Linked DNA regions of Homo sapiens: region 2 is linked to region 1. The links are contacts of gene promoters, found by promoter capture Hi-C in blood cells and fetal thymus (Javierre and others, 2016). All regions are on one chromosome and are shown on one strand. Each heading gives the region's core, a stretch centred on a gene start or on the middle of the fragment in contact. The rest is flanking DNA. Distances are from core to core; before and after follow the strand shown. Region 1 holds the start of ADAM32 (ADAM metallopeptidase domain 32). Region 2 overlaps TACC1 (transforming acidic coiled-coil containing protein 1).

Region 1 (7,494 bases), core at 1,255-3,754:
AATTAGCTGGGCATGGTAGCAGGCACCTGTAATCCCAGCTATTTGGGAGGCTGAGGCAGGAAAATTGCTTGAACCGGGAGGCGGAGTTTGCAGTGAGCCAAGATCCTGCCACTGCACTCCAGCCTGGGCGACAGAGTAAGACACCATCTCAAAAAAACAATTAAGTAAGTAAATAAGCTATCAAGCCATGAAAAGGCATGGGAGAACCTTAAATGCATATTATTAAGTAAAAAAAAAGTCCATCCAAAATGGCTACATATGATTTCAAATACATGACACTCTGGAAAAGGCAAAACTAAGAAGACTAAGGAGATGAGTTGTTGCCAGGGGCAGTGGGGAGGGAGGGATAAATAAGCAGAACACATGGGATTTGTAGGGCAGTGAAACTATTCTGTATAATACTACAATGGTGGATGCATGTCATTGTACATTTGTCAAAACCATAGAATGGGCAATGTGGAGAATGAACCCTAATGCAAACAAACTGTGGACTTTGGATGATAACAATGTGTCAGTGTAGGCTCAATTGTAACAAATGGATCCCATGGTGCCAGATGTTGATAGTGGGAGAAGCTGTTCATATTTGGGATCAGGGGCTATATGGGAACTCTTTCAGCTCAATTTTGCTATGAACCTAAACGTACTCTAAAAAATAATGTTCATTAATATTTTTTTTTTATTTTATTTTTTGAGATGGAGTTTTGCTCTTGTCACCCAGGCTGGAGTGCGATGGTGCCATCTCAGCTCACTGCAACTCCTGCCTCCTGGGTTCAACCGATTCTCCTGCCTCAGCTTCCCGAGTAGCTGGGATTACAGGCACGCACCACCACGCCCAGCTAATTTTTTTGTATTTTAGTAGCAATGGGGTTTCACCATGTTGGCCAGGCTGATTTCAAACTCCTGACCTCACTCAGGTGATCCACCTGCCTCAGCCTCCCAAAGTGCTGGGATTACAGGCGTGAGCCACCACGCCTGGCCGTTACTTTTATTTTTAATGAATGAAATACACATTCTTACATTTCTATTTTAATTTCTAATATGTTAAACATCGATATAAATCCACATAAACAAAAGCTCTTTGAGAATCTCAAAAATTGTTCATGTATAAGGCAGTTCTGAACCCAAAAACTTTGACAACCACTGCATTAAAATTTTGTATGTGTTATGAACTGAATGTATCCCACAAAATTCTATGTTGAATCCCTAACCCCCAATGTGACAGTATTTGGTTATGGCCTTTGGGAGGTAATCAGGGTTTTAGGCATAGAGTGGGACCCTCATGATGAGATTCATGCCCTTATAAGATGAGACATCAGAGAATTTCCTCCTCCTGTCTTTCCCTGTACACAAAGAAAAGGTCCTGTGAGTACGCAGGGAGAAGGTAGCTGTTTACAAGCCAGGAAGAGAACACTCACCCTAATCTAACCAGGCTGACACCCTGGCCTTGACCACACCTCTGCTATGCTGCAGAGGTAATTATGGCAGGATAGGAAGAAGAGTAGGAAGAGTTCTCAAAAATTTACAGTATCACCAGGGAGGCTTACATGCAAGTAAAATGTTTGGATATGCCCGTATTTTTTTCCTTCTCTTATTACATACTATTCTGAATCTTGTCAGCCAGAGTCAGTACATGGCATGTCTTACTTCCTCCCTCTCCACAGTGGTCCATTTGCATTGTTTGGAGATAACCACAGTTTATTTAGCAGTTCTCTTACTAATGAACTTTTACAGTTTTTCAATCATTTTGCTGTTAAGTACTATATTAGTCAGCTCCCACTGCCATAACAAAATAGTGTAGACTGCATGGCTTAAACAACAGAAATTTATTTTCCTCATAGTTCTGGAGAACTACGATCTGGAGTCTCCCTCTGTTGCCTACTGTTGCCCACTGCACTCCAGCCTGGGCGACAGAAGGGACTCGGTCACACACAAAAATAATTTTTTTAATTTATAAAAAAGACAGGATCTCTGTCGCCCAGGCTGGAGTCCAGTGGGGGCGATCTTGGCTCACTGCAGCCTCCACCTCCTGGACTCACGTGGTCCTCCTCCCTCAGCCTCCCGGGTAGCTGGGATCACAGGTGCGCACCACCACCTCGGAACATTTTTTTAAATTTTTTTGTAGAGATGGGGTCTTGCTGTGTTGCCCAAGCTGGTCTCCAACTCCGAGGTCAAACAATCAGCTCGCCTCAGTCTCTCAAAGCCCTGGGATTACAGGCGTGAGCCCTGGTGCTGGGCCCTGAGTCGCTTCTCCATCCGGACGGGGCGCCTAATCCCCTGGAAAAGGCCCCGTTGCCAGGGTGACAGGACCAAAGGGACCCAGACAGGGAGGGCCCCGGGCTTTGCAGGGAGTCGGGCCGCAGTGTGACGAGCGCCCGGACTAGTGTCAGGGTCTGGGCTGGCTCACCGGGTCTTGACGCCAGGAGGCCGCAGAGCCCGGCCAGCAGCAACCAGAGGCGGAACATGGTGCGGCTTCGGGGCTGCCAGCGGGAAGCCGTTGGGAAGTCGGGAATTGCCAGGGACGCGGGGACGCGCGGACGCCGGGGGCCGCTCCCCGCACGTTCATGGGACAGCGTTCTCCGGAGGCCCCGGAGACGGGGTGCTCTCGGTGTTTAGCGTCCGGAACACGAAGGGCCCGCAGCGTGCGCCCCGAGGCTAAAACATCCAGCTCCCTTCCCGGCGCACCCCAGCCGCGTGGTTGCTGGAGCCACTGACCACCCAGCGCCCTCTGTCGAGATCGCGCTCGTAGTCCTCCACTAACTTTTCGCTTTGTGTTGCTGGACCTTAAGAACTGACACACTTATTCACAGTCAGCGTGTGCTCTCCTGCACCAGACACTTCCCAGTTGCTTTTTTTTCTTTTTGGGACGGGGGTGCTCACTATTCTGCCCAGGCTGGTCTCGAACTCCTGGGTTCAAGTGATCCTCCCTCCTCAACTTCCTGAGTAGCTGGGATTACAGGCATCTGCCACCGTTCGGGGCTTCCTAGGTCCTTTCAAAAGCGAATGTGTAATACTTTCTGAATTAAAATCTATATACACACCTAAATATATATTCATATTTGCCAAACCTGTTTCTAATATTTTTTCAAAACTATTTAGCCAGATGTGTGAACATTCCAAAGAAGGGAAAAGTGAGCCGCTTTTCAATATGAAATGCCAGCTCTTCATATTTTTGAAGAGCGCCAGCTGCATTTTTTTCCCCACTGACGCTGCCCAAATGGACTTCACAACCAGGCTTTTTCCTCCAATCTGGTTCTCCGCAGGCCATTGGCTAAAACTCATGTGATGTCATTCTATTGTTCAGAAACTTCTCAGTGCAATAAATACTTATTTCATGTAGTGAAAGATTTAGAGATTCTTGCCCACAATTACAGTAATTACATTCCAGTAGAAAATTCTAGCCTCAGCATAGTAATTTTTCTGAACTCAGACCGGAACCTGCCACTTAATTTCTCCTATCCCGTGTTTTAGCAGCTCTGACTTTGGGTTTTTCCTAAACACTGCTTTACTCCCTGGAACTGCAATGCCTCCTCCTTCCCAGCCTCACACCTGGTCTCCATCTGTATGCATTAGCTTTTCATTCTTTTCAAATCCCAAAGAATGGATTAATTTCTCATACTACATAATAGGCCAACACATAAACTAAAAGGCCTCATGGGAACAGAGAAAAATCTCACTTGGGGAACTAAGACATTTAAAGTGAAGATGTGATTTTTATGGATGCACGCAATTTCAACAGGGCAATCTACACCTGAAATTAATAGCATGAACAAAAACAAGGCAACAGGCCAGGTGAGGTGGCTCACGCCTGTAATCCCAGCACTTAGGGAGGCCGAGGTGGTTGGATCACCAGAGGTCAGGAGTTTGAAACCAGCCTGGTCAACATGGTGAAACCCCGTTTCTACTAAAAAATACAAAAATTAGCCGGGCATGGTTGTGGGCGCCTGTAATCCCAGCACTTGGGGAGGCTGAGGAAGGAGAATCGCTTGAGCCCAGGAAGTGGAGGTTGCAGTGAGCCGAGATTGTGCCATTGCCCTCCAGCCTGGGTGACGAGCAAAACTCCATCTGGGGCAGGTGGAGGGGTGGGGTGGGGAACAAGGCAACAAAAAAATACACTGAGCTTGTATCTCAATAGGAACAGCCAATGCTAAGCTAACACTGCTTTTAGGCAGCTGCTGAGCCACAGCTAGTTTCACCTTGCTTTGTAACAAACAGAAGAGCAATTACAGTAAATGCTTCAACTCATCAATTAGTGGTAAGTATTCTGAATGAATTTCTGGCTCTTGTATTATTTTGTTCTTTCTTACTCCTCAACCTTTCTGGTTTGTATCTTTAATAGGGTTGATTTTGTATTATTCTTGTGTGTATGCCTCTCTTCATAACAGAGGATGCACTTCTAAAAGTCGGGAAACATATCCTATCCAGAACTTAGATATCACAGTACCTAATACAGTGCCTGAAAAATGGTAGGTTTTAGTAAACATTTATGAAATTTAATAAAATCTGATTTGAGTTTAGAAAACCCAAATTGTGCTTAACTCTATGGTTACAGACACAGGAGAAAGCGAGAATGCAATACTCTGAACAAGGTCAGTTTGACATACAGAGTCAAACAGAGATGTCAAACTTGCATATAATTTACCCTTATTTATTCTTTTTGAAGAAAGAAAGGATGTCCTTTAATATTTTCAAATTTTGAAGTGGCATCCATGACCAAGTAAGTAAAAAACATAAAGCATATTAAAAAATATATAAAAGAAGTTCAGATCCAATAGTCTTTTTAAAAACTTAACTAGTCAAATATCCAAAGAACTATTTAATTCCAAGTGTTAAGTTACATAGTTAATACATTACCAACTGTAAAATTTCAGTGATATGCATCACAATTGCAAAAACTGAGGCTACATGAGTGAACAGCACAAACGTTTGAGTCTTATATGAATTCATTTAGAGATTTAAAATGAAACGATGGACCTTCATTTGAGATTGCTCACAATTTTTAATATGTATACTTGATTGTTAAAATAACATGCTGTCTTCAGAAAACTGAAATTTTTGCCTTCTTCAAAACTAATCTGTTCTTTATTAACAAAAAGCCATTGTGCACACTTTGGCAAAAGTCTGAAAATTAGTGAGATAATATCTGTAAAAATTTGACTAGAATTTTTATCTAAAATTATAACTTTTTAATTAATGAGATTATAAATAGTTGAGTAGGAAGCTACTAGGAGACACAAAAGAGAATTTCAAGTATTTTATTTATTGTAAATGTTGTATTTGTATATGTATATATACACAAACCAAAAACACTTTTAAAAAACTAATGAAATTCAGTTAATAAACCTATTATTAAACTTTATTATGAAAGGTTATGAAAAAATTTTTAGTGCTTAAAATTTTACGATCCATACCATATCTGCCATAGTAAAAATTCATTTTTAACACAGCTAAGATGATAACTCATAGATACCACAGTAACTTTTTTGTAGGTATTTAAGAAAACCATTTCTTCCTTCTTTCTCCAGCCTAATTTCTATGAAAATATTAGTGTCTAATATTTTACATGACCCAGCACACCTTAGTAAATGTAAACATTCTAAATGATTTAATAGCAAGCTTTGAAAGTTCAGATTTTAAAGTGCTCATGAAATTCTCAAGTGGTTTTGTAAAAGTTCAATTGATTGAAGATTTTATAATTGCTCCTGCTTTATTATAGCCATGAATCAACATATTTGATTAGATCTATTAAATACTTCGTACCTTAAAGCTTATAATTTATTTAAAATAGTGCTATTGTGAACGAATGTCATGCTTTCACATGATTCATAATAGAAATTCTAATATTAAATTAATTTCTCTAAGAGTTATTACCTATAGTTGAAAGGTCATAAAAATGGAAGCGAGTAACTGCGTGAATACACACACACTCTTTTAGTATATTTTGTACTTTCAAAATAATATGACATCTTAATTGTGGTTCTTGTGCATTCTTTTGAAGACAATATTTGCTTATTCATGTAGTGAGTGACAGACAAGATTCTAGAGTATGATGATTATTAATTCGTGCATGATGAAAAATATTAGATATTATTGGCAGCTGATTAGTCAGTTTTCACAGGTATTAGATTATCACATGTTCAATGAGGAACTACATTAATGATAACTAAGGTAGAAAATTCAGAATAACACTTAAACACTTAATGACAAAACTCTTACACCAATACAGTTAATTTGAGAATCACTGCAATAACATGTTCAAAAAATCCATGATTAGTGCATTAACCTCACCGATGACTGAATAAGACTTATTCAATGATGGAAACGGAAATGTTATTGTAAATTCCCTGGCTTTACTGCATTTCCTTGTATTTCACAACTCTCACACTCAGTTTCTGTTTTTCTGTGTTAGTGAAGTCTGTTTTGTGGTGTTTTGTTTTCATTCATAGTTGCAACAGAAAGGCTTTTCAAGAAAACATCAAGAAAAAAAAAAAGTATTAGCTCAGTTCCCTGAAGACATTTGCAAAAAGAAGGTTAAAAAAATCAAGTGAGGGAACTATATAAAGGAGGTGCAGGAGCAGGACGGGCAGGAATTAAGTTTCCCTGAGATGATACTTTCGGTTGTGGTGGAGGTGGCCTGCGAGGGGAAAAGAGATAGTTAATAGAGTGTTTAGACTGGGTGAAATAATGCCATATTCATTACAAGCTCAACATAACACCATCCTCAACATCTCTGACAACAGGAAAGGGTACTGTACATTCTGAGATCAGTATTAGGGTGATATTCAATGGCTAAAAGGCTCCAATTAGAGTCTAAAATGGAATAACTACTTTAAATAATATTACTCCATAATCAACAATGTTGTATGAAGGTTCTAGTTTACATGTTTTTTCAAAAAAAAAAAAAGCACATGAAATGGTAAAGATAAACTGTAAAAGACAAGTGAGTACACTAAGTGATCAAGCACTTGCCTGTGCTGTTAGAATTTGAGGGCAGCAAATTACTGCTGGTGTAAACCTAGCTGTTTATAGCTCCCTCAACATGAGATTCACTCTGAGAATTAAAAGTGTTATGACTTCTATACCTGTCCATCTCAAACCTCATACTTCCACCTGTGGACACCCGCTCCTAACCTCATCATCCAATTCTAGTACACCTCTACTCCAGTAACACTAGAACACTACCTGGTGAATGTTTCCCTCACAATTTATATACTCTTTCCCTGATCCTCAGTCGGATTTCAATGTATTCTTACTGTATAATAAAGATTACATATGAAGATAGTCCTCAGAGTTGCAACGCAATTGTAATTTGAAAGACTTCTAGGGGATGGGAGGGTCACATGCATTTGCATTTTATGTGATACAAAATGAAGTAATAAATTATCTTCCTTCCTGATGATTTTAAGCCCATCCATTGAGTCACTTCAGTTCCTGTGTTTTTCAGTTCTAGAATTTGCATTGATTCTTTTAGTTTTTAGTTCTGTGCTGAAATTCTCA
Region 2 (7,494 bases), core at 2,816-5,315, 270 kb after region 1:
CAAGCACAAGAAGGCAGTAAGGTTCCTTAAAATACATACATTACAGAAGCTCTGTTCAGACGTGAGCCAAAGTGCCGCTGACTGTGAGCTCAATGTTAATGAATCAACTATATATATTAAATAAGGTGTCTTTAAACAGGAACACACGTAAAACAAGGTTATATACTGATCAATCAATGAAAATGTTGTGGCCAGATGCAAGACTCTAACTCTGTCTTTTCCCTAGGAGCAGTGTTTATTTACTTATTTATTTTTTGAGATGGAATTTTGCTCATTGCCCAGGCTGGAGTGCAGTGGCACGATCTCGGCTCACCATAACTTCCGCCTCCCAGGTTCAAGCGATTCTCCTGCCTCAGCCTCCCGAGTAGCTGGGATTACAGGCATGCACCACCACGCCCAGCTAATTTTGTATTATTAGTAGAGACGGGGTTTCTCCATGTTGGTCAGGCTGTTTTCGAACTCTCAACCTCAGGTGATCCACCTACCCAAGCCTCCCAAAGTGCTGGGATTACAGGCGTGAGACACCATGCCAGGCCAGGAGCAGTGTTTAGTATTCACTAACTCAGTGTTTGCAGCAACTTTACAGAACATACCTCCCACGAATAATGAGACGACTGTATCTAAGTGACAGACAAATACAAGTTTGTGACATGGTCTGAAAATCATAAATGGATCCGGCTATGGTCTTATAGTTTATGCCACCCCCCAACCCCAAATTTGTGTATTGAAACCTAATCCCCAGTGTGTGAGTATGTTCAGGGTGAAAGTGGGCATGGAAGGGAATTTGGGAGGTGATTATGTCAGGATTAGTGTCCTTATAAAAGAGACCCCAGAGAGCTAGCCAGCCCCTTCTATGAGGAATGGGCCCTCCCCAGACATCTCATCTGTGGGCACCTTGAACTCTCCTGTCTCCAGAGCTATGAAAAATGTTTGTTGTTTATAAGCTACCTAGCTTACATATTTTGTTATACCAGGCTGAACAGACTAAGACAGATCCTATGGCTCATACCCTCAAAAAACAAAATGTTCTCCTTACCAATCATTTGAGCAATAGTCTTTTCATATTCAGCTACAATTTTCCTAAATGAGAAAAAAAGAACTTATTACCAGAGGAGGATTTTCAGACAATGAAAGTTGGAGAAATGCTGTCCCAAACAATTAAACACATTAACATACACTGACAATGTATGTAATCCATTTATCTGCTTTGGGGCTCTCGTTATCTTTTTTTTTTTTTTTTTTTTACATTATATAAGGTTTCTTAAGGTTCTAAAAAGGTTTTTGTTAAGATTTTATCTTTAGTCAAACTTATATTTTACTTATAGAACCAACTGCCTTCCCTTTCTCTTTGCACCTATTTGAATACTGCAAGGAAATAGATTCATTCTGCTTAGATGAGTCAATCTTTTACAAACTAAGTTAAAGATATTCTTCTGGGCTCTTCCTAACAGATGCGATCTGACTTTAGACTTTCCTGAGTCAATCCACCCTTTCAGACACTCTACCTCTGATTCAGTGACAAGTTTTATTTTGTGTCCTAATTCCAAAAGTATTTCACTTATTCAAAGACTTTAAAGATCAACCTCTTGGGTTAACCTTTCTTCTAGTGAAGAATGACAATGTCCTTCTGACCCAGTCCGGTGCTGGGTGCTCTGTGAGTCGCATCACGTCCTCCCCTGCCCTCAATGGTGGTGCCCCCATCACTTTTGACGTCATATCCAAGTTGGTTATTATGGATGGCTACCGCTCTCTAAGAGCAGGAATGTCCCTTCCTTTCCATCAAGCCCAGCAAAGGGCCTTACACCTAGGAAATGCTTAAAAGACAAATAATAAAAGAGCAACAAATTAGAGGGATATACTTAAAATGTTTTTTAATCATTCAAGTGTTGACCACACTGTGTGTGAATTATTTATGCCTTTTTTTCTTCTCTACTTTGATTTCATCTTTAGTCATTTCATGGCTCATAACTCTCCTTTCTAAAAGTGAGGAAAAATAAAAAGATTTCGATTTCAAGTCAATCAATTTTGTTTCTTGTTAACAAGCTTTCTATCATCTATTTGGTGGTTATGTAATTTGAAACTCTCATGCATAATTAATTTTTAAAAAGTATTATGGACCAGGCGCTGTGGCTCATGCCTGCAATCCCAGCACTTTGGGAGGCTGAGGCAGGTGCATTGCTTGAGCTCAGGAGTTACAAACCAGCCTGGGCAACAGAGCGAGACCTCATCTCTAAAAAAAATTATGCAGGCATGGTGGCACATGCCTGTGGTCCCAGCTACTTGGGAGGCAGAGGGGAGAGGATCAGTTGATCCCAGGAGGTTGAGGCTGCAGTGAGCCATGATCACACCACTGCACTCCAGCCTGGATGACAGAGTGAGACCCTGCCTCAAAAAAAAAAAAGTAGTATTATGAATTTCAGTGTCTCTATCATTGGATAAATCTTATTTTTCTGTATTCCAAATGGATATTTTGATACAAATTTCTGTCAGTTCTAAGAAGATAAGAATTATGTGGGTTCTGTTTACATGTTATATGTTCTGAACAACCCAAGATAAACTACAGTATTTGAATATAATAACTGGTTAGCAATAACTCCTGAAATAACATTCTCAATCACAAAGCAAGGTGCAAACAGCAAAGCCCTCAAGCTCTCAACACTTGGTTCTGTGGCAAGCAAACACTGTCATCACTTCATCTGTATCAAATCTAACAGTGCATAAAAGTATCCAGCCCCTCCCCAAAACCTCCAGTCTAACCTCATCTCCAAAACTTCTTGCCGGGTCTCTTCGTATTTCTTCTTCCATTCATTTGCTTCAATCTCTTTAGTAATTATCTAGAGTACAATAAAGCTTAGTTTTACCCAATCTATTACAATTTGCATTTAAGACTGGGAACTGAAATAGCACACAACCAGGTCTAACCCAAGATGTTCAATCTATATTAGAAATATAAACTTCAATATTAAATGTTTGTAACCATTTGGAAAAGTGTATTCTAAGCCACACTGAATGCTGGGATGCAGACACGGGAATAAAGATGAGTAGAACATCTCTCAGAAATCCCAAGTAGTATTTACAGCCTCTGTGAACTTTACCTTGGTCCAGGGTCTAGCTCTCAGCTCTGCAGGGCCAGGCCCTGACTGGGACAGACACCAAGAACAGAGCCATCTGATTGGCAGGTATTCACTCTTAACTAAGGCCATGTAATCACGGCTGATGCCAGGCCACCAGAGTGAAACTGCCACAAAGTCAGACCACTGGAAGTTGGCATGAGCAACACATTCTCTTTCTATAGAGATTTCTGACAGCTTCATAGAAATGGAGTCAGAAGGAGGGGGCTCAGATGAGCTGGCTACATCTAGCTATAGCATCCGTCACTTATGGGTAGAGTCTTGCTAGTTAGCCTGGAACCTAGGCTCATATTTGGGATGCTCTTGCTAACTGGAAGGAAATACTCTAAATTCATTGCCTCAAACTCTATTTGCCCTGGGCTGGGCTTGCATGGGCAGCCTCTTACTGTACTTCCCTGGCCGTGCCGCTCTCTTCCTAATTGGTAGTTTCATTATATTTATTAGGATCTCAAGAACATAGAAGGATGTATCCTGTGTGCTTCAGGTAATCAGGCACCTCTTTACTTTGATCCATTAGGTGGTGATCTCATAGTTTAACTCCCAGGAAAAACATCAAGTCATTTTTCTCATTTACAAGATTTTGGCCAGGGACAGTGGTGCGTGCTTGCAGTCCCAGCTACTCAGGCAGCTGAGGCAAGAGGATCGCTTGACCCTAGGAGTTCGAGGCTGCAATGAGCTATAATTGTGCCACTGCACTCAGCCTGGGTGACAGAGTGAGATCTTGTCTTTTATTTTATTTTTATTTTTCTGAGATGGAGTTTCGCTCTTGTTGCCCAGGTTGGAGTGCAATGGTGCGATCTCGGCTCACCACAACCTTCGTCTCCCAGGTTCAAGCGATTCTCCCACCTCAGCCTCCCAAGTAGCTGGGATTACAGGCATGCACCACCACGCCCAGCTAATTTTGTATTTTTTTTTTTTTTAGTAGAGATGGGGTTTCTCCACGTTGGTCAGTCTGGTCTCGAATTCCTGAACTCAGGTGATCCGCCCGCCTTGGCCTCCCAAAGCACTGGGATTACAGGCATGAGCTACTGCGCCAAGATTTTATCTCAAAAAAAAAAAAAAAAAAAGATTTTGGTGGGCCTTATTACCACTGCTCCCAAGTTTTGAAAACAGGACTAGCTGACATCCCTCATTACCAACTTGATGCTATTTTAGAAAGCTGTAAAAGACCTACAGCTGAGGTGCTTAACCACTTTCAGCATACTATAAAAATTAAAACTAAAAAAAACTATAAAACTAAAAACTATAAAAATAAAATTGCCACACCTTCCTTTAAGAACAGGTGGAATTGTCAAGAAACACACAAAACAAACACACAAAATACAGCATAGATATATGACAGGAGAGGGTGGGCAACTTATTAATGGTACACAACAGTGTCTTTCGTATTTTTCAGATAACCAGGAAAGGCCTAGCAGTGATCTATTTTGAACAAAGGCTGTTCAAGAAACACAATACAGGAATCGGAGAGTTGAACGGTTTAAAGAATGGATGAAAGTAGGAAACAACTGTGTATTACTGCAAAAAAATTACAAATGTTTTTAGGCATTAGCATATATCCTCTGTAAAATAAAAGCACTGATTTAGTTACACATGGGAGCAAAGCTGGCAAAATTAGGTATTTTAAATGTCAGGGCTGAAAGATAAAGAAGGGTACAAAATTCTTAAGAATATTTCAGATTGTCAACATTTTACCCTGGAGACCAGAATGTCAGGACTCCAGCACCACTGCCACAGGGGGCCCTTTTACGACCTAAACAAGCTGCAGGTAATAAGAACTTCCAGCCTGTGATAACTTGAGCCAGCAGAGATGCAATCTACCTGCTGGTACATGGGCCTTACAAAGAAATGGAGTGATAAGCAGACTAAACAGGAGAGCTTTTACCTCTTCTCTTATTAAGGTGAGCACGGCTGTCTTGTCTGATTCGCTGAGGCAGATCCCATCCAGGGGGCTCTCACCTCCACAGGACACCGACACAGGGGCCTTCTCTGCAGAGGACTCCAGCAGCCCCTGTGGGGAAAGGGATTACACTGAATCTGTCAGCTTTCAGCTTCTTAACCCCAGACATCCTTCAACAACTTCCTCATTACTAAATTGATCACATCCTTTAAAACCATGTTTAAAGAAAAGTCAGCGGGGGGAAGCTTTTTAAAAAACAAATCTAATTATGGAAGTAACTAAAGAAAAACTGTTATAATGACTATCAGAGTGGTCTTAGCTTCTGTTGAGCAGATAACCTAGAGAATTTTATTCTGATCTAAAAGGGAGAAAGTGTACTTATAATAGCGGTCAGTCACCAAAGAACCACATGGATAAAAGAGAAACACACCCATGATTAAGTTTCTGGGGATAAGCTCCATGTAAATGGGAATTTCTTTTTTAAAAAAGCAAAAACAAAAACAAGTGACAGCTGCTCCTGTTACATATTGATGCTTTGTATGTATCTTTAGCCACTGCAGATGGAAATGTTTCTAAAATACTAACTTTCAGGCCTAAGAAGGCAGAAATAGCAAATATATTTGAACTCTGAACTCTCACCCCCACCCTTTCACCCGGATGATTCAGGATCATCCTGAACTTCCGCTGCTCCGCAGCGACCTCCTGCTGTAACCCAGCCTGCTGGGTGTGTGCCATTGTTGCCCATATGCAAAATGGCCATACATAAGTCAAGGACCATGCCTGTGTGTTGGTTCTTCCTTGCTACTAAGTTTTCCACTCCCTTCTGGCAGCACTTCGCCCTCTGAGGTGCTGGCTCAGAAGCTCTGAGGAGCTTCTTTCATAAGCTCAGGTTCCAGAGCAAAACACTGGCAAACTTTTCTTTTCATGAGAACATGGACTTTGTACTATTTTCCTTCCTAAAAGACGTTTTTGCTGGCTATTCCTCCTACCTACGGAAGTAAACTTTTTTTTTTTTTTTTGAGACGGGGTCTCACTCTGTGGCCCAGGCTAGAGTGCAGTGGCGCAATCTCGGCTCGCTGCAAGCTCCGCCTCCCGGGTTCACGCCATTCTCCTGCCTCAGCCTCCCGAGTAGCTGGGACTACAGGTGCCCGCCACCACGCCCGGCTAATTTTTCTGTATTTTTAGTAGAGACGGGGTTTCACCGTGTTAGCCAGGATGGTCTCAATCTCCTGACCTTGCAATCTGCCTGCCTCGGCCTCCCAAAGTGCTGGGATTACAGGCGTGAGCCACCGCGCCTGGCCAGAAGTAAACTTTTTATATAAATGAGTCATCTAATACTTTGGGAACATCCAAAATGCCAAAGTGACCTGGAATAATCTTAATCTTAAATGTGGGATAACTAATCAATTAGTTACTGATTATAATCAATCAGTTACATCTTGTGTGAATCAACACTAAACAGAAAGTCCAAGGTGAACGTAGATGAGTGGCTTTTAAATTTTTCAGAGTCATTATAGTTTTACCCTCTCTCTAGAAAATGCTCAGAAACAGAATTTTAGCATGCAGCTTCACAGACCTCAGCCATGGGCCCAAAATAGAAACCTGTCTCAGGCCACAGAAAAGCAAAATACAAAAGCCACAAGCTGGCAGTGCCCATGTTCCAGCAGCATTTGGGGGAGGGCAGCCCACCATGCCAACAGAAGTCCAAGGTACCCACAAAACCTCTCTTTTCTCTCTTGGGAAAAATCTACCACTAGAACCAGAAGGCACTTGCAGTGGGCAGCCTCTAAAATGCCCCCCAGTAACCCCTACCTCCAGTACTAATCCCCTCCCTCTGTAATCTCTTCCCTTTGAGTGTAGGCTGGACCTAGTGACTCATTAGAATATGGCAAACGTCATGGATGTCACTTCTGAGGTTAGGTTCTGAACAAACTCTGACTTCCATGTTTTGAGAAGCTACAGGGAAAGGCCCACGTGGCAAGGAGCCGATGTCTCTGCCAATAGCCAGTGGGGACCCGAGACTTGCCAACAACCACATGAGTGAGCTTGGAAGCAGATCCTCCCCAAGTCAAGCCTGGATATGACTGCAGCCCTGATCAACACCTGGATTGCACAGCCTGTAACAGATTCTGAGTCAGAGGCACCCAGCAAAGCTGCCCAAGATTCCTGACGCACAGAAACAATGAGATAATAAACACTTGCTTTAAGTGTTGGAGTAATGTGTTACACAGCAGCAGATAGCTGATACACCCCTGGACATTTGAATCATCTCACTAACTTCCTGTGCCTTGTTTCTTATCAAGAAACTTTTACTTGCCTAAAGGGAGGTAATACAGGAGGTCAAGTTGAGACTTGATTCACCTCACTGTTAAACTTCTGATTCTAAATTAACAACATTTCATGGGTCAGTCTCTTCTGAGTTCTTAGTTTAAGCCAGAGTCCCCAGGTTAAGTCAACTTTAGG

The links. The method cuts DNA at HindIII sites, captures the fragments that hold promoters and counts their contacts. A CHiCAGO score of 5 or more calls a contact.
Region 2: a contact is called between a fragment that was not itself captured here and the fragment with the promoter of ADAM32 in region 1, in 1 of 17 cell types (total B cells). The highest score is 5.2, in total B cells.

What each region holds. Positions count from the first base shown.
Region 1 is chr8:39,102,744-39,110,237 of GRCh38, reverse strand. ADAM32 (ADAM metallopeptidase domain 32) reads right to left here and starts at 2,504. Exons shown (of 25, transcript NM_145004.7): 1 at 2,405-2,504. The coding sequence starts at 2,462. ADAM9 (ADAM metallopeptidase domain 9) reads right to left here. Exons shown (of 22, transcript NM_003816.3): 22 at 4,977-6,631. The coding sequence ends at 6,538. The HindIII fragment of the contact is 5,845 bases long and covers 1-5,615 here.
Region 2 is chr8:38,833,810-38,841,303 of GRCh38, reverse strand. TACC1 (transforming acidic coiled-coil containing protein 1) reads right to left here. Exons shown (of 13, transcript NM_006283.3): 7 at 5,017-5,142; 8 at 2,758-2,834; 9 at 1,037-1,080. Among named protein-coding and RNA genes, the nearest start is that of TACC1, 50 kb to the right of the region's middle. RefSeq lists an enhancer at 5,639-6,422. The HindIII fragment of the contact is 2,426 bases long and covers 2,853-5,278 here.